6 separate regions of the Homo sapiens genome follow, and all the other regions are linked to region 6. The links are contacts of gene promoters, found by promoter capture Hi-C in blood cells and fetal thymus (Javierre and others, 2016). All regions are on one chromosome and are shown on one strand. The core of a region is centred on a gene start or on the middle of the fragment in contact, and the rest is flanking DNA. Distances in the headings are between cores, read along the strand shown.

Region 1 (2,939 bases), core at 402-2,901, 770 kb before region 6:
GTAATTTAAATGCAGACGCACATATGAGAATCTAGCAGAAATTAAAGAGATTTGCAAGTTAAAAAATACAACTCTTCTCTAAATACAGCTTTTTTAAAAAAAGTTATGTTCACAAAATAGGTTTTTCATTGTTTTTAAATTAATGAATATTTTTTAAATTTCTCTGTTTTTATTTCTAATGAGAACTGGTAGATATAAATGACACAAACAAAAGATGTTTAAGGTCCTCAATAATTTATAAAAACATAAAAATGTCTGTGTTTTATATAGATATATTTTGGTCCTGAGACCAAAAAGTTTTAGAATTGATGGCTGTTTATTGAGGAGTTTATGATATAACTAAGCTATGTCAACTGTTTGCATGCTCAGCCGTATTTGAGATTGTAGGTTGTAGTTTTTAAAATTTCTTTCTCTTGATATTTCTAAATCGGGCTTTTATTTTCACATATTGAGTCTGGCTTCTGTTGATTATGTTAATTAATTAGGTTGAACAAATGTAAAAGTAAGTAGGTTTTTAGTTAGTAAATATCTTTTCAAAAGCCTTCAATTCTTCCATCAGTAGCGAAACTAAAGGTCACATGGATTGGCAATAGTTTTATGTCACTCCTTTCGTAGCACTGCCTTGTCACCTCAGTATCTCTTCAAAATAATTGTTTTTAACATGAAAAATTAGACGTGCTTTCTAATCCAGGTCTGTCATCCAGTTGTGATTCTGATTTGGGTGTATCATAAGGTAGACATTGGTTTACTTACCAAAATTAGGAAGCAACCTAGATACTCTTTTTCAAAAATACTGCTTTTGAAACTCTTCAAGTTATTTTACAGGAAGATTTCCTTTCCTTTTTTATTAGTATTACTTGACTGGCTTAAGATTCAATTGCCTGTGACTCTTATGTCATTTTTCTCAACAAAATCATTATCTTTTTCATTATTAAATACTTATTAAGCTTTTACTAATGTGCCAAATGTTGTGCTGGATACTACTGGTAATAAAGTGACAAGCAAGACAGATACAGCACCCGCCTGCATGGAGCTTAGGGTCTTGCAGAGGAGAAAAATGTTAAACTAATTAGTATATGAATAATTGTTTAAATTACTGTACAGGGTCAATAAGAGGATACAACAAAGATCTTAACTAAATCTAGGATGGGTCAATTGTATAAGGTCTGGGAAAGCATCTGCTAATTCCAAAGACAGAATTTTCCCTGGGCGATGATTATACACAGATGGGTTAGTTATTAGTCTTTTAAGAGTGATACAGTTTAAATTTTTTTTGTCATTCAGCTGCTGGCTGTACAGGTGGATGGTAATTTATTAACTGGAAGAAACTGGCTTATATTAGCTTTGTGAGAACAGTGTCCAACCTCAGTTGGTTGCAACCCATTGAGAAACTAATTAGTGTTTCTGCATTTAGAGCACTGTAGTGGCTATTTTTTTCTGCCATTTTGACATATTTTGTACGATTATTTATCCATGATTATTATATTTACTCATAAAATAATAGAAGTTTGTTTATTTGGAATAAGAAAGTACTCTATATAGGATATTTAGGAAATATCCTGTAGGAAACCCAGAAACTATTTTGAGTTCATATTTTCCTTTTAGCTTTGTTTTGATTTTTGGATTGGAACAAAAGATTGCATGTCTTCCTTTAAACAAAACAAAACACTATAGCAAAAAGTGAGGTGCTGTTTATAAGAAATGTAATAGAAAACATGAAATATTCTTTGAATAATGAAGTTTAGAAAAAAAGGAGGGTATTGTCTATTGAGTGAGAAGAGTAACAGTCTTTTTGCTTTTACTCTTTCTTCCCAACTGGTGATTTTTTTAAAATAATGACTAAATAATCAGACTTACACAATCTATAGTGGTAATGGCAGAGACTTAATTAGAATAAAGAAGAAACCTGATGAAGATTGCAATCATGAGTTGTTGCATGGTCCTTAGAAACCAGAACAGGACCAGTGTCTCAGCAGTGATTCTAACCTTTTAAAAATCATGAACCCTTTAAGAATCTGATGTAAACTATAAACTTCTCCCCACAAATATGTTCATAGAGATTTTGTCAACCAAAGTCTATCTTTAGATCTCAAGTTGTTAATCATCAATCAAGGTTTAAACATTTTAGAGTTTATACTAATTCTGTGTTCACACTATGGACAAATCAACTTTAGATAGATTAAGGACTTAAATTTTTAAAAATTCTGAAACCTGTGGAAGAAGTTAAGCTAGTATCCTTCAAACCTTAGAGAAAGGGAAGATTTTTTTAAAGACATGAAAAGCATTTACCACCAAAGAAAAAATAGTTTTGACTATATTAAAATTAAGAACTTTTGAAAGTAGAGCCAAGCTTAAACAAAGTAAAAAGCAAGTTACGGAATGGGGGCAGATATTCACAAAACACACAACAAATGATCAGCATCAAGAATGTGTAAAGAACTACAACTTGGTGAGAAACAATCAAATAACCCAATAAAAAATGGAAAAATGATAGGAACAGGCATCTCATAGAATCAAGTCAACATGAGCAGAATCTCAACCTCATTACTGACCAGAGAAATGCTTTACCATTTCTAACCTATCCAACTGGCAAACACTAAAACATCTAATAGTAGCAAGTGTTGGTGAGGACAGGGATTCACAGTCTCATATGCTTCTTATAGAAGTATAATTTGGTGCAATGCTTTGGAAAAGAGGTTTGTCCTTATCTCCTAAAATTAAACATTCCCTGTAACCTAGCACTTTCACTCATTGGTACCTACTCAAGAGCAATCATGCACATGTATACCAGGAGACACGCAAAACAAGTTGATTGTAGCCCTCTTCACAATAGCAAAACCCTGGAAACAGCCCAAGTGCCCATCAGTGAGAGAGTGAATGAAAAAAATCTATAGTTTTTATCTAGTATGAATACATGATATATACAGATTAAGTATGCC
Region 2 (2,700 bases), core at 76-2,575, 560 kb after region 6:
TAAGTCTCACAAGATCTGATGGTTTCATAAAGGGGAGTTCCCCTGCACACGCTCTCTCTTGCCTGCCACCATTAAGACATGACTTTGCTTCTCCTTTGCCTTCTGCCATGATTGTGAGGTTTCCCTGGCCATGTGGAACTGTGAGTCCATTGAGCCTCTTTCCTTGATAAATTACCCAGTCTCATGTATGTCATTATTAGCAGTGCGAGAATGGACTAATACACCCCATCTCTACAAAAAGTTAGCCAGGTGTGGTGGTGCACGCCTGTAGTCCCAGCTACTCAGGAGGCTGAGATGAGCCTGGCAATTGCTTGAGTCTGGGAATTTGAGGCTGCAGTGAGCCATGATGACACAACTGCATTCCAGCCTGGGTAACAGAGCAAAAAAATAAAAAATAAAAAGGTAGGAACTATTTTATTATTAACAGAGTCTGTCTTATTCTGCTGTTGTTGACATTTTACAGATCCTTTATTGCCAACTATCTGCATAACTAGATTTTAAGTTCCTTGTATGCAGAAGTCATGTATTATTTTTTAAAATTTTCCTTATATTGATCTGTTTTTTTTTAATAGTAAAGATTGTTGAATCTGAACATTAGATGACAATGTATTTGTCCAGCATTTCTCCATTTGAAATTATCTCACATTATTATGTGAGACTTGTTCATGTGCTTTGCTGGAGTTGAGACTTAGACAGTCTGTGTTTTTTTATTTAGCAAAGATAATCCAAGTTAAAATAGTGTTGTGTGTTCCTATAGGAAAACTAGGCCCAGTGTTATAACAGAGTGTAAGTAATAATAGCCACTAGGAGGTAAGTACCTGCTCTGTGCCAGGAGCTATGCTTCAGATTTGAGATGTTTTTATTTAATTGTCACACTGATTTTATTACATAGGGAACATTTAATAGGAGAACAAAGCTTAGGTAGGTTCAGTAATGTGTCCAAGTTCACACAGCAAATAAGTGGCAGAGTGAACTTGAACTTTGATTCTCTCTGAATCAGAACCTATTCCTTTATATGCTCTGTTGTATCCCTAGCCTGAGATCCACTAAGCAACTTTTTGAAGATGAGTACTACTGATTTCTTATATCCAACATGTATACATTGTCCAATGAAATTCTGCTAAAACATGGGAAATATAGGTCAGCACAATTACCAGTCATGCAAAATTGTATTTAATATCATAATTTGTAATGGTGAGGGGTGCTTCTTTGGGACATAGAATTTACAATGGCAATTTATTGACATATTTATTATTAACATTATTATATTTACATTCTCTAGGTACCCACATTTCACTCCTAGACACTTTTGCATAATCTCAATAACATCATAACATCTATAAATATTAACACTAATCCTGTAACATCACCTAACTTTTACCCGTATTCAGATTTCCCCACTTGTCACAAGAGTGTCTTTTGTTAAAAAACCCGGATCTAATCAAGTTTCACTCATTGTATTCGTTGCTATGTTTTTTTGTTTTAATTTTGATGGGCATCTTTCAGAAGTTTTAAAATAGTCTTAGAACCTCTTTTTAAGAACCAGATTTGAATAATTTATTTTATTGACCTCCTTGTCACTCTAACATTTCTTTAGTAAATACAGGCTTTGAGGGTAGGTATTGGTTTCTCTGTTTAAAAGTAGAAACTTTGCATAAATCAGCCCTTATATGTGTAAGTTTTCTGCCTTTTGGTTTCTTCTCATGCTGTTTCTGCACAAGTGCCTAAGCTTTTTTGAAGCTTTACTTGAGGGGTGACCAGAAGGTTTTACTTAAGGACACAGACCCTTAAATTCTGCAATGACAAATCTCAACTTCCATCTCAGGGTTGTAAGTGAAACCAGGATGCAGCCGTTTCTCTTTTCTCAGATAAGTTCAGGTTTGAATATAAAGTGTGACTATAAGATACAGAGACTGTCCCTAGAAAAGGAGGGGAAAACATTTTAGCAGTTCCTCTTTGGAGATAACTTTCAGTGCCTGCCCATCAGCCTCCAAGGAAAATGCTTTTTGGTTACTTTATAGGTTCTAGTGAACTTTGCTTACTTTACAATGTTCCCCAAAATGTCTGTTGAGATTAGTGCCTGAATTTCCACTGGGCTGACCAGTCTGTAGTTTCTTGAACATTTTCTTCCTATGCCAGTTAAAAATTAGAAGAAAATTGAAGTTTAACATACACATTCAGAAAAAAATAAAAAATCAGATTAATAAGAAACTAATGAGGCTGTGCCATTGTAAACTACTTGCAATAGAGTTTCCCAACGATGAACTGAGTATCTAGAAAATAACAAGGATTCTCAAGGAATTTTAGTGAAATGATCAGTACTGTATTGAAATACCTTGAATCAGACTTTGGAGAATAGATTTAAAAACACTCACAGCCTTAACCGATCTAGTAAGAACCTTATTCCCTAAAGCATACTGTGGATCTCAGCTGTATCCTATCTAAGGTGAGAACAGTCAAAGACAAATGTGGCCTTTGAGAAAGGTGGGATGTGAGTGTCTTGAAACAACAGGCTAAAGAAGTGCTCTCAAATAGAAGTATAATATGGAACATGTGAAATTAATTTTAATAATATATTTTAGTTAACCTAATATATCCATAATATTTTCATTTCGACATGTATTAGGTTGGTGCAAAAGTTATTGTGGTTTTTGCTATTTTTTTTTAATGGCAAAAACCGGCAATTACTTTTGCACTAAC
Region 3 (2,700 bases), core at 102-2,601, 790 kb before region 6:
TTATGTGTATGCTACTCTCAAAATAAGGTAATCATGTACATATTCTGCAATTTGCCTTCTTCAGCAAATGAATTCCACCTTTTAATTTCTGAAATTACATCTACTACCCAGACCATATTTAAAATTTCCAGCTGATCCAAAAATGTCCTTTGCAGCAGCTATTTTATCCAAACCAGTATCCAATCCAGGACCAGACATTGCATCTTTTTGTTATGTTTATTAATTTGTCTCTGTGTGTGTGGTATTTTGTAATCCAGCACAGTCCCCTGTCTATGACACTGACTTGTTGACTGAACAAGGCCACTTATTTTTCACAGTATTCCTCCTTCTAGATTTGTCTGATTTACTTGAGGTGCCATTTAGTTTGTATTTCCTATAAACTTGACATTATGTCTAATGGAGTCAAGTTTTGCCTAAAATATTTCATAGGTGATGTTGTGTTGTCTGCTTAATGTTGTATCATGTTAGACCTGTTAGTGGACTGTTACTCATATTAAGATGGCTCTCTTAATTGGAGTGAAGATAACAGTTTGACCCTTACATTCCATTTTTTTCTTGCCAAGGTCCCTCCTGGAACCCTCCATCCTCCCTTTCCTCTCTAGACTGTTCTCTGTGCCTGCTGCACAGTTACTGTTCTGGAACTTTTTTTTTTAACATCATCCTGGGAAATCCTTTTTTCTGTTTGGTGGATTGGATCTCTCATTTTTGTGAGTAAATCTACCAGGAGATTTTAAAGAAGAATGCAATAGGGTAAAACTACTGAGATTTTACTTCCACCTTCGTACTTAATTGGTAATTTGCTTAGAAATAGAATTCTAGTTTGGAAATCATTTTCTAGAAATTTGAAGGCACTACTCCTTTGTTTTCTACTTTGATTAGTGCTGTTGAGAAGTCTTGTGCTATTCTTATCCCTGATTGTTTGTATGTTACTGGTTTCTTTCTGGAAAGCTTCTGATCTCATCTTTGTTTCTTAGTGCTCTTAAATTTTACAGGGATTTGCCTTCATATGGTTTGGGTGTTTTATGGGCTCTTTGAATCTAGAAACTGATGTCTTTCCATCCTGGGAAATTTTTTTGTTTTATTTCATTAATAATTTCCTTCCTTCTGTATTCTCTGTTCTCTCTGAAGAAATCCTATTAGATGTTGTATTTTCTTGTTTAATTCTTCAGTTTTCTCATCTGTTATCTCTTATTTTCAATTTATTTTTGTTTTATTTTCTGGATTCCTTCAAGTTTAGTTTTAACCCTTCTATTGAACTTTTCATTTCTGCTGTCATATTTTTCACTTGGCTATAGCAGTTACATAAGTGCCATTTCCTGTTCTCTGAATAGTTTGTTTTTATGACATTCTGATTTTAAGTTTTTTTTCCCCTGTGTTGTCTATTTCTTGAGCATGTGTTTAGTCTCCCCTTTTAGTTTTTGTTAGAGGCTTTTCTCACTTTCTGGTGATCCTTAAGTGTTAGCTGGATTTAAGATGGAAGAACTGAAAAGTTCATGGGAAACTTTGTACACATGGGTGTCTAAGTCATTTCAGGCTGCTATAACAAAGTATCCTAGGCTGAATGGCTTAGGAAGAACAGAAATTTCTGGAGACTGAAATCCAAGATCAGGGTGCCAGCATAGTCAAGTTCTGCTAAGGGCTGTCTTCCTGGCTGCAGACTGCTGAGTTTTCATTGTATTTTCACGTGGCAGAGAGAGGGAGCAGACTCTCTGGAGACTCTTACAAGGATTCAGATCTCATTCATGAAAGCTTTACCCTCATGAGCTTATCTAATTCTAATTACCCCCAAAGACCCTACCTCCTAATACCATCACATTAGGGGGTAGGGTTTAACATATGAATTTTGAGGGAACCGAAGCATTCAGTTCATAACAGTGGGCAACGGTTATTGCCTGGTGGGTCTTGAAGCATATGACAGAATGGGACTCCTGCCTGTTATTTTATTGGGGAACTTCCCCAGTTATCTGTAGGTCCTTTAGGTTTGGGCCTCTCAATTTCTTGGAAAGGAATCCTCCAGGAGTGTAAGCCTAGATGTCTGTTTTGAAAGCCATTTAGGGGCAGAGGGCTAGACCTTTCACTGTTAAGTATAACACTTTAACTAAATCCCCTCTTTTCAGCTGTGCCTGGGGTTCTGGAATCCAGAAACTCTCTAGTTGAGCATCTCCAGAGAATAAACTTCTTCCCTGCTGCTCTGGTGGTAAAAAAAAAAAAAAAATCATCACCTTACTGTGCTGGCTGGGGGAGGGGTTGTTGCAGATTTGACTGTTTTTATACAAACTTTTAACTGGACCTCCTCTTTTTAGCACCACATCCCACTTGACAGCATAGCCTTTACAAGTACTTAGGGCTCCAATTTCTGAGCCTTTTTAGCATTCTCTAGTAATAATAACAATAATTTCTTATGCATGTATGCACTTTGCATATAGTAACTCGTTTAATCCTGTGAAGTAAGTACTACTAGTATCCCTCTTAAATAGGAAATTGGGTTGTAACAAGGCTAAGCCCCTGCCCAGAGTGTCTTGACAGGAACTCAGGATTTGAATCAAAGCAGTCTGTCTTGTATCCAACACTGCTTTTCAGTACAGATCAACTTGCTTCGTATTAGTTATCTCATTTCTGCAAGCAATTAGGTTTGTCTGCTCTGTTGAGTCAGTTACTAGTCAGTTGACATTCTACCTTCCAAAATTTTGATGATGCTTA
Region 4 (2,798 bases), core at 280-2,779, 810 kb before region 6:
GTCTTTAATCTTTGTTTCATTTTGGTATATAGCATGAGGTAAAGCTTTAATTTAAAAATTTCGCTCAAATAGCCAATTGTCTAAGGACTGTTTTATAAGTAATCTATCATTTTTCTACTTATTAAAATGTCGTCTTTAAAATATACTAATTAGGAATGTAATCATGGATGTGTTTCTGAGATTTCCATTTGGTTGCAATAATCTATTTTGCATTGGTACTTGCATTGAAGTATCAATATGATACTTCTTAAATTATGGGTTTATATGACATTTTAATATCTAAAACCCCTGTTTTATTATTCTTTTCTTCCCAAATTTTAGTGTTTCCAATTCCTTTGCTTTTCCATATTAGGTCAAGTTCTAAGTAACAACTAAAACCTTTAAGATATCTATTTAAATATATCTGTATCTATATAAACATATGTCTAAACATAGCTTTAGCTATATAAATCAATTAGAAAACACTACCATCTTTTCAATACCTTGTCTTCCCATTCAAGAACATGGATTATATCTCTATAAAAGTCTTCTATTCCATTCTTCAGTAAAGTTTCATGGTATTTTTATGTCTGTTACTTAATCTGTTGTGAATGGAATCTTTTATATTTTCTAACTCATGACTTGTGAGATACAGGAAATTCTACTGACTTTACAGAAGTCAATGGCAAATAATTATTTTGTCTCTTCTTTTCCAGTCTTTGTTTTCTTTCCTTATTTTACTGTTTTGCGTAGCACTTCCACAATAAGAGTTATCATGGCTCTCTTCATCTTATTCCTACACTTAAGAGGCTTTTATCAGAAAATATGACAAAATGAACAAAAGGAAACAAAATGAACCACCCAATTCACACCCATCCTCTTCACTCTATCATTATACTACTTTGTATATTGACAGCCCATTGTTTTACCTGACAATTTTTGTCAACAACTTGCTTCAGCATAAGCCTTACATTCCTTTAATAGATCAAAGCCTGGGCTGATTCAAAGGCTCACCTTGGACCCAGATGCCAGTCTGCCTCCTAGCTGATCATACTTCAAGGTAGTGATAGCTGCTTTGTGACCATTGAAGGTCACATTTCCTTCCCCACTCAGGAGACTGAAGATTCGGATCGACCCATCCTCATACCCAACAGCTAAGTGTAGCCCATCTGGGGAGGGGCATAAGCAAGTAACTTCTTGTTTAAGCCCCTGAAGGATAAGAATCTGAAATCATAAAAATTAAAAACAATGTAGAAGAGTTAAGCATGAACTCAAGGGAAAAGCATAGGAATACTCAGGCACAGTAAAATTAAGAGCACCAATAATTCCAAATTACTCTTATGAATAAAAATGAAACTCCACAATCCATTTCAAGTTTTTTAATATAGAAATTAGTATTTGTACTAGGCAATGAAACATTTAAGAAAAGGCTTAATTATTTTCTCCAAAGCCCTACGTTGTTGTAATACATATAAAAACTCCCTAGGCAATAAAATAAATTTAATCCCTTTAATCTAATTCTTAACCCTAGAACAACACTACGTGATTTTCAATAAAGGTTTATAAATTCCTTTAACTGAGACCCATTTTATAAGAAAATAATCTGTGTGGCAACAGAGTACTGCAGTGGTTTTAACCACAAAGGACTCTTGGTGGCAACAAGAATCAAAGTACTAACCTCTTGGGAATCACAAAATGAATGGACAATATCAAAATGCCTATATTTGGTTTGGCAAAAGTGGTAGGCTTAGGGAATTCAGTCACACAAAGTATCAAAGTCTACTTTAACAACACTTGGGCATTATCCATATTAGAAAAAGATTCTGCCAAAATAGACTAACCTTCCTTTTACATGCCTAATATTTTATAACCAGCTATAAGCATAAGTCGAGCTTGAAAAATAGAATTGGTAGAGAAAAAATACATCAGGAATAAATAATTACTGCAAATAATGACCTGTAAATATTCCAACAAATAGACATCTAAGAAATAAGCTCCTATTTCATTGTGGTTTTCAGAATTCAGTGGCGAAGAACACAAAGGAACTTGATGCTTGGCTAGCTAGACCTAAAGGAAAAAGATTTTTCTTCTAAGGGCACAGACACAAAAAAACTCATGATAAATAAATCAGAGCCCCCCCACTTCTACTACCTCTCCATCCTCAAATACCAATAAATCAGTATCAAACTGGTCATTTTAGGCTCACCTTCTCTCCTTTCCTTAAGTCCCAGATGAAAACGTGTTCACAAGCTGGTACTGCCACATAACGTCCTTTCTCACCACGAAGTGTCACAAAGACAATATTACCTTTTTGGCTGCCGATAACGCCAAAGACCGCACTAGCAACATAGCGTAGGTACTGCTTGGTGAGCCCCATGTTGTGATGTCTGATACCACAGGTGAAGCAATCTGTGCATATAAACAAAGAAAACTCAGCTCCTTGGGTGCCTTGGTTCTACTAGGTTAGTAAACACCAACTGTTTTTTTGTTTTTGAGACAGAGTCTCACTCTGTTGCCCAGGCTGGAGTGCAGTGGTGGGATCCTGGCTCACAGCTGACTCCACCTCCTAGGTTCAAGCGATTCTCCTGCCTCAGCCTCCCGAGTAGCTGGGACTACAGGCATGTGCCACCATACCCGGCTAATTTTTTTTTTTTTTTTTTTTTTAGTAGAGATGGGGTTTCACCATATTGGCCAGGCTCGTCTCGAAAGCCTCACCTCAAGTGATCCATCCGCCACGGCCTCCCAAAGTGCTGGGATTACAGGTGTTAGCCACTGCGCCAGAACAACACCAACTGTTGATCATGTCATTAAAAGCATGT
Region 5 (2,792 bases), core at 233-2,732, 540 kb after region 6:
CCATCTGTCCCTGATTGCATAAGTTGATTGTACTAATTACAAAACATTGGAAAACAGAAAAGTATAATTTTGAAAAGAAAGGTTAGCCATAATCTCACGGCCTACAAATATCTACTATTAATAATTTGGTGTATATTTTTTGGTCTTTGCCTCATGTCTTCATATTTCCTCTGTCTGTAAACAAACTCAGGATCTTACTGTTTTATGTGATCTTTTTTCCCACTCAACTTTCTTTTATGAGCGTTTTCCCATGTCTGTGAAAGCATTTCATAGCCACCATTTTTACTGGTTTCATAACATTCATTGTGCAGACGTACTTCAAAGATTTTTTTCGGAGGGATACGTTAAACACATGGAAGACTTGAAATAATATAGCTCTAAAAGTATTGTTAGGAAAATAATCACCTTCCACTGCTGAGAGTTGACATTCACAATAATCTGAAATACATGGAATGAAGGGCTCCCATCCTCACTAAGATTGCAGATGAGTCGATTAGTAGTTGTGTTGGGCTCACACAACTGGGGAAGGGAGAAAACCACAATCATCACACACAGGCCAGGAATTGGCGGTCACAGTGAGATCCAGGGGAGCTGTTAGTGTCACGCAGACAGCAGGGGCAGAGGTCGGCATCTTTCCATGGCTTATACTTGGAAAAGAAGAGAGTATTTAAGTCCAAACAGGGAGGAGGGTTGGCATATTCTAGAAGGGGGCAGATTCAGGGAACTAAATTGGTAGAGAAACATGTTAAGGGGAGAGAGATTGTGGGAAGGTGGAAATTAATTTCTGTCGAAAAACTTGTATTGAGTCATTTATGCAGACAAGGCATTTGAAGGGGCCAAGAAAAATGTTAAGCGGTTAGAAGACAAGAAAGCAAAGGGAGATTGAAGAGGGAGGAGGTGTTTCTGAGGAGCTCAACTGATGGTCTCTGGCCATCTTGCCCCTGGCCATGATAAGTTCCACTGCACATCGCCCAGGGCCACCTCCCTTGACACCTTAGCCAGTCACCAGGAGCGTGGGGATACTATGTTAGACTCTGGAGGAGAAAAGCATGGGGTGGGGGGCTCCCCTTGGTCTCTAGTAGGGCTCTCTAATGGCCTTGGAGTTACAACTGAGGAGTTGAGTGAGTTTGAGTTACCTGTGAACTGATTGAATAGTCCCCACCCGGCCATATTCTGTTCTCAAGCATGTTCTTGTCCCTGAGAGAGCTGGGCCTGCCACCTGTAGCTGGTTACTGAGCCCTCCTGTGCCAGCAGTGCACACTGAGATTCCAGATGGGTGCAGGAGGTGGGTGCAGAGGGGCTTGGCAGAGCCCCCACAAGAGCAATGGGAAGCCCAGCCTTGTGTTAACCTGTGAGCGACATGTTCACCTGTGAGCGACACTAAGCCAATTCATTGAAAGCCCAGGACAATACTTGGAAAGTGCTCCTATTTGGTCTTCATCCAAGTAGGATCTGATTTGGTATCTCTACTTCAGTTTACATTACATTGGCACCTTTCATGAACATTTCATAAGCAGAGCCAAAGGGAGGCCTTTTAGGAGTTAGGGAGTGAATTATTTGTTTAGAACATATTACAGTGAGCCAAAAAAAAAAAAAAAAAAAAAAAAAGACAGCAAAACAGATTCAAGTCTGTTGGCATCTGTGAGATGTGACTCACCTGCTTGGGGTCCCTCTCTGTGGTTACTCTGTGTCTCCCGCCTAAGCAGGGAGGACACTTTGCGTACATCCTCCTGAGACATCTGTGCTCACAGGGAAGGGCCCTTTCAGCCTTGTCGTCTGTTATCTGGCTTTAATCCTTGGAGAGATACTGATCTCCTTGGGTTCTCTGTGTTTTAGGCAATAAGCTACATGCACACAGTTTAAATTTAAGTTACTGCATGGGTGTTTTAAATTCCCAGGGCTACCATAACAAATTAGTATAAACTTGATTGTTTAAAACAAAAGAAATTTATTCTCTTACAGTTCTGCAGGCCAGAAGTCCAAAGTCAGGATGTCATCATAGCCATGCTCCCCATGAAGGCTCTAGGGAAGAATGCTTCCTGGCCTTTGCCAGTTCCTTGTGGCCACAGACATTCCCTGGTTGTGGCTGCTTCACTCCTGTTTGGGCCTCCATCATCATATGGCCACTTTCTCTCTGTCTTCTCTCCTGTGCTCATAAGGACACTAGTTATCTTAGTCTGCTCAGTTGCCATAACAAAATACTATAGACTGGGTGGCTTAAACAACATAAATGTATTTTCCTACAGTCCTAGAGGCTGGAAGTCTGAGGTCAGGGCACCAGCATGGCTAAGTTCTGGTAAGAGCTCTTCTGGCCCGCAGACGGCGCCTTCTTGCTGTGTCCTTGAATAGTCTTTCCTCGGTGCATGCACCTGGAGAGAGATCTCTCTTCTTCTTCTTATAAGACACCAATCTTACTGGATTAGGGTCTCACTCAGCCTTATGACCTCATTTAACTTTAATTACCTCCTAAAAGTCCTACCTCCAAATGTAGTCACATCGTGGGTTATGAATTCAGCATATTAATTTGGAGGGGGACCAATTCAGTTCATAGCACCAGCCACTGGATTTAGGGCCCACCCCAATCCAGCAAGACCTCCTCTTTGCTAATTACGTCTGCAAAGTTGCTATTTCCAAATAATCACATTCTGAGGTTCCAGGTGGACATGCATTTTGGAGGGACACTATTCAGCCACTACAAGGGGTTACAGTGAAAATAAACACCTCTTCCCCCCGGGATTCCCATAAGGAACCACACTACCAGCTTCTTATGAATTCTTCCACAGATATTTTAT
Region 6 (2,961 bases), core at 289-2,788:
TTTTTGTGACTTCCTCCAGCCTACTGGAGAGGCGAATGCCGATTTTGAGAGTAGATGCAAGAAGGACAAGAGGCTGAAAAAAATCTAGGTAAGGACTATTTAAAAATCTTTGGAGATATGCTTAACATTTGGAAATTACTTGCACATTTTATATAAAGGTGGCATTTGACTCATTGGCGTGTTATATTTTGGAAATGGCCAAACATTTCATTTTTATATTTTATAATGGTTTTTTTTTTTTTTTTCATATTTTGGGGTTAACTTTTTTTCAGATTCCATACTTTTAAAAGCTTAGGCTCCAGACACTATGCCTATAGCATGAAACAGATAATGAAGGAATCAAGTGAAACAGTCGCCCACTGGGTACAAATTAAGTAGGGAAGGTCATGAACAAAGAAAGCAGTGAGGGCCCAGTAGACAAGCTGACGCAACTGGAGATAACAACAGGTGGAGGGGAAAGGAGCAGCTGTTTCCATTTTTGGAATTTTGGAGAATCAGGAGACGCCTGGTAAGGCCAGAGAAGGTGGCCGTGTAATTATAAAGTTAAAGGGGTCGGACGTGTTCATCTTCCCAATTAGTTTTAAGCCCACAAAGGGCTTGTCCCTCATTGCCACCGTCCATTGTCTCACTGTGACCAGGCAGGAGCCCTCCGTGATTGACTGATAAAAACAGCGGGTCCAACTCGCTCAGCTCGTTTCTGTTACACAGGACTGTGGAATCCCGGGTGACATTCAACTCCTTAGGTCATCTGCACTCCCCCCGGACCGGAAAACAAAGCCTTCCCGAGCCCGACAAGGAGGGTGGCGCTCCCTGGCCCGGCCGAAGTAAGCCCTCCATTCGACACCTCGGCTCCACGGTCTCCCGAACCGGTCCCCGTAACGCGAGCCTGAGATGCCCTCACCCCCGAAAAATACCCAAAGTCGGGGAGCCGCGGGAGTGCTTGTACCCAGCACGCTAGGCCTGAGGGACCTGTGAGCTACAGTAAGCGCCTGAGGACAGAGGGGAGCCTCGCAGCCTCAAACCCGCGTGGAGGAGAAACGTCTGGCGCCCCCGAGCGGCCGAGACCTCGGGAGCCCGAAAAACGTCTCCCACTCCCAGCGCAGAGCCAACTGACAGTGCCATCCACCAATGGGAGAACCCAGTCTGCGTTCGTGGGACGAGTCCGAGGGCAGAAAGAAGGCCGTCCCGGCGCCAAATCAGCGTGGCTTTTTAAGAGGTCCTGAGGCCTCTCTGGTCACCACAGAGAGAGGGACAGTCCCTGTGAAACGGTGACGCTGACTACACTATGCCGCTCGCTCCGAGCCTTGGCCTTTTCCTCCCGCCGCACTCTAAGCCCTTCGGCCGCCCCGCCCACGGCCTTGTCAGGTCCCGCCCCCCGCGTGAGTGGACTGGCGAAGATGTGGAATTTCCAAAACTTATTGGATGCTTAGTGGCGTCACTCTGGAGGGCGGCGGGGCCCGGAGCGGCGAGGGCCGCCGCTCTCGGACGGTGATTGGACTCGCCGGAGTAGACCGGGCTGGGATTGGTGTGAGGAGGGGCCAGAGCCCGCGGGCGTCCCGGGCCGAGGCGCGGGAGAGGCGGTGGACACCGAGAAGCCCGCCGGCGGCTTGCAATTCCCTCACCCGGCGCGCGCCTTTCGCAGAGGGAAGGAGCAAGAGGGCCCCTACCTCATCGTGCGCGGGTGGGGTCGGCGCTTGTCGCGTGTGGCGCGCAGTGGGGCGGGCGGCGGGAGGGGGGTGGCAGTGGAGGGAGCGAGAGGTGCAGGGGTGACTTTGTTGGCAGCAGGACTAGCTGGAGAGCTAGACCTGGAAGCGCATCCGGGGAGGACTTGCGGGGCAGAGGAGGGCGTGGGCGTGTCTGGTGTGGGATGCAGTGGAAAGGAGGGGGCCCTCCTGAGTAGATCTGTGGGTGATTCCTTCGAGGACGCCTCGTCTTCCCGTCTGCCCTTTTATTTGTCAGCGAGGGAGTCCCCATGGTCTCTGTTCAAGTTCTGGAGACTTTCTCTTTGGGTGGGCTTAATCACCTGCTACTAAATCGTAGAACTGCCCAGGGCCCTTTCTAATATTGGTCACAAACGTGAGGAGTATGTCAGAAAACAGAAAACCGCTGCTGGGCTTTGTAAGCAAACTCACTAGTGGGACTGCACTTGGGAACTCAGGCAAGACTCACTGCCCCCTGTGCTTGGGGCTTTTCAAAGCCCCCAGGCTCTTGCCTTGTTTGCATACAGTTTGCACCACGTGTCTGGAGCAGCTGGAGCCCTTCTCAGTAGTGGACATCCGAGGGGGAGACTCTGACACAAGCTCTGAGGGGTCAATATTCCAGGAACTCAAGCCACGAAGTCTGCAGTCGCAGATCGGCATCCTTTGTCCTGTATGTGATGCTCAGGTGGACCTGCCCATGGGTGGAGTGAAGGCTTTAACCATAGACCACCTGGCCGTGAATGATGTGATGCTGGAGAGCCTACGTGGGGAAGGCCAGGGCCTGGTGTGTGACCTGTGCAACGACAGGGAAGTAGAGAAGAGGTGTCAGACCTGCAAAGCCAACCTCTGCCACTTCTGCTGCCAGGCTCATAGGTAAAGATGGGACACTCCATCAGGTGTAGCTTAAGAGCAGATTACAAAGAGGTGTCAAGACAAATCCCTCGGTGAGCAGATGAAAAGGAAAGCCTTCTCAAATACCGTGGAAGGTCAAAGAGCAATATAACAATGCAATAGCAAATACTCCAGTACAACAGTTAACCCGGTTAGCCTAATATAGTACCTAATATATAGCCTAATATAGCAATAGCAATAAACCCTTTCAATTTACAAAGTGCAGCTACAGTTTCCTTCAGTCATTCGTGTAGTGAATAATTGTACTGGGTGCTGGAGAAACAGGAGAATGAATATAACAGCATAGATCCTGTTCTTGATCTCCTTCGATCTTGCAACTCTTACAGAAAAGCAGGCCCTGTTTTCGCCC

Evidence for each region. The method cuts DNA at HindIII sites, captures the fragments that hold promoters and counts their contacts. A CHiCAGO score of 5 or more calls a contact.
Region 1: a contact is called between a fragment that was not itself captured here and the fragment with the promoter of TRIM45 in region 6, in 2 of 17 cell types (naive B cells and total B cells). The highest score is 8.4, in naive B cells.
Region 2: a fragment that was not itself captured here is called in contact with the fragment with the promoter of TRIM45 in region 6 in 4 of 17 cell types (total CD4 T cells, fetal thymus, naive CD4 T cells and 1 more); the score reaches 8.5 in total CD4 T cells.
Region 3: a contact is called between a fragment that was not itself captured here and the fragment with the promoter of TRIM45 in region 6, in 1 of 17 cell types (total B cells). The highest score is 6.4, in total B cells.
Region 4: a contact is called between a fragment that was not itself captured here and the fragment with the promoter of TRIM45 in region 6, in 1 of 17 cell types (total B cells). The highest score is 7.0, in total B cells.
Region 5: a contact is called between a fragment that was not itself captured here and the fragment with the promoter of TRIM45 in region 6, in 7 of 17 cell types (activated CD4 T cells, naive CD8 T cells, naive CD4 T cells and 4 more). The highest score is 10.7, in activated CD4 T cells.

Annotation. Positions count from the first base shown.
Region 1 is chr1:117,891,114-117,894,052 of GRCh38, reverse strand. The region is part of intron 8 of GDAP2 (ganglioside induced differentiation associated protein 2); the gene reads left to right. Among named protein-coding and RNA genes, the nearest start is that of GDAP2, 37 kb to the left of the region's middle. The HindIII fragment of the contact is 1,403 bases long and covers 950-2,352 here.
Region 2 is chr1:116,560,031-116,562,730 of GRCh38, reverse strand. All of the region lies in intron 1 of CD58 (CD58 molecule), which reads left to right. LOC105378925 (a long non-coding RNA gene) reads right to left here. Exons shown (of 3, transcript XR_947739.2): 3 at 1,544-2,700. It overlaps MIR548AC (microRNA 548ac), which reads left to right and starts at 2,620; the gene lies at 2,620-2,700. RefSeq lists an enhancer at 64-213. The HindIII fragment of the contact is 813 bases long and covers 919-1,731 here.
Region 3 is chr1:117,912,917-117,915,616 of GRCh38, reverse strand. All of the region lies in intron 3 of GDAP2 (ganglioside induced differentiation associated protein 2), which reads left to right. Among named protein-coding and RNA genes, the nearest start is that of GDAP2, 15 kb to the left of the region's middle. The HindIII fragment of the contact is 801 bases long and covers 951-1,751 here.
Region 4 is chr1:117,932,878-117,935,675 of GRCh38, reverse strand. WDR3 (WD repeat domain 3) reads right to left here. Exons shown (of 27, transcript NM_006784.3): 2 at 2,186-2,388; 3 at 994-1,203. The coding sequence starts at 2,356. Among named protein-coding and RNA genes, the nearest start is that of WDR3, 4.5 kb to the right of the region's middle. The HindIII fragment of the contact is 2,966 bases long and covers 47-2,798 here.
Region 5 is chr1:116,580,137-116,582,928 of GRCh38, reverse strand. All of the region lies in intron 9 of IGSF3 (immunoglobulin superfamily member 3), which reads left to right. Among named protein-coding and RNA genes, the nearest start is that of CD58, 11 kb to the right of the region's middle. The HindIII fragment of the contact is 6,350 bases long and covers 1-2,792 here.
Region 6 is chr1:117,120,326-117,123,286 of GRCh38, reverse strand. It overlaps TRIM45 (tripartite motif containing 45), which reads left to right and starts at 1,538. Exons shown (of 6, transcript NM_025188.4): 1 at 1,538-2,573. The coding sequence starts at 2,086. RefSeq lists an enhancer at 1,104-1,273 and a silencer at 1,584-1,773. The HindIII fragment of the contact is 3,223 bases long and covers 293-2,961 here.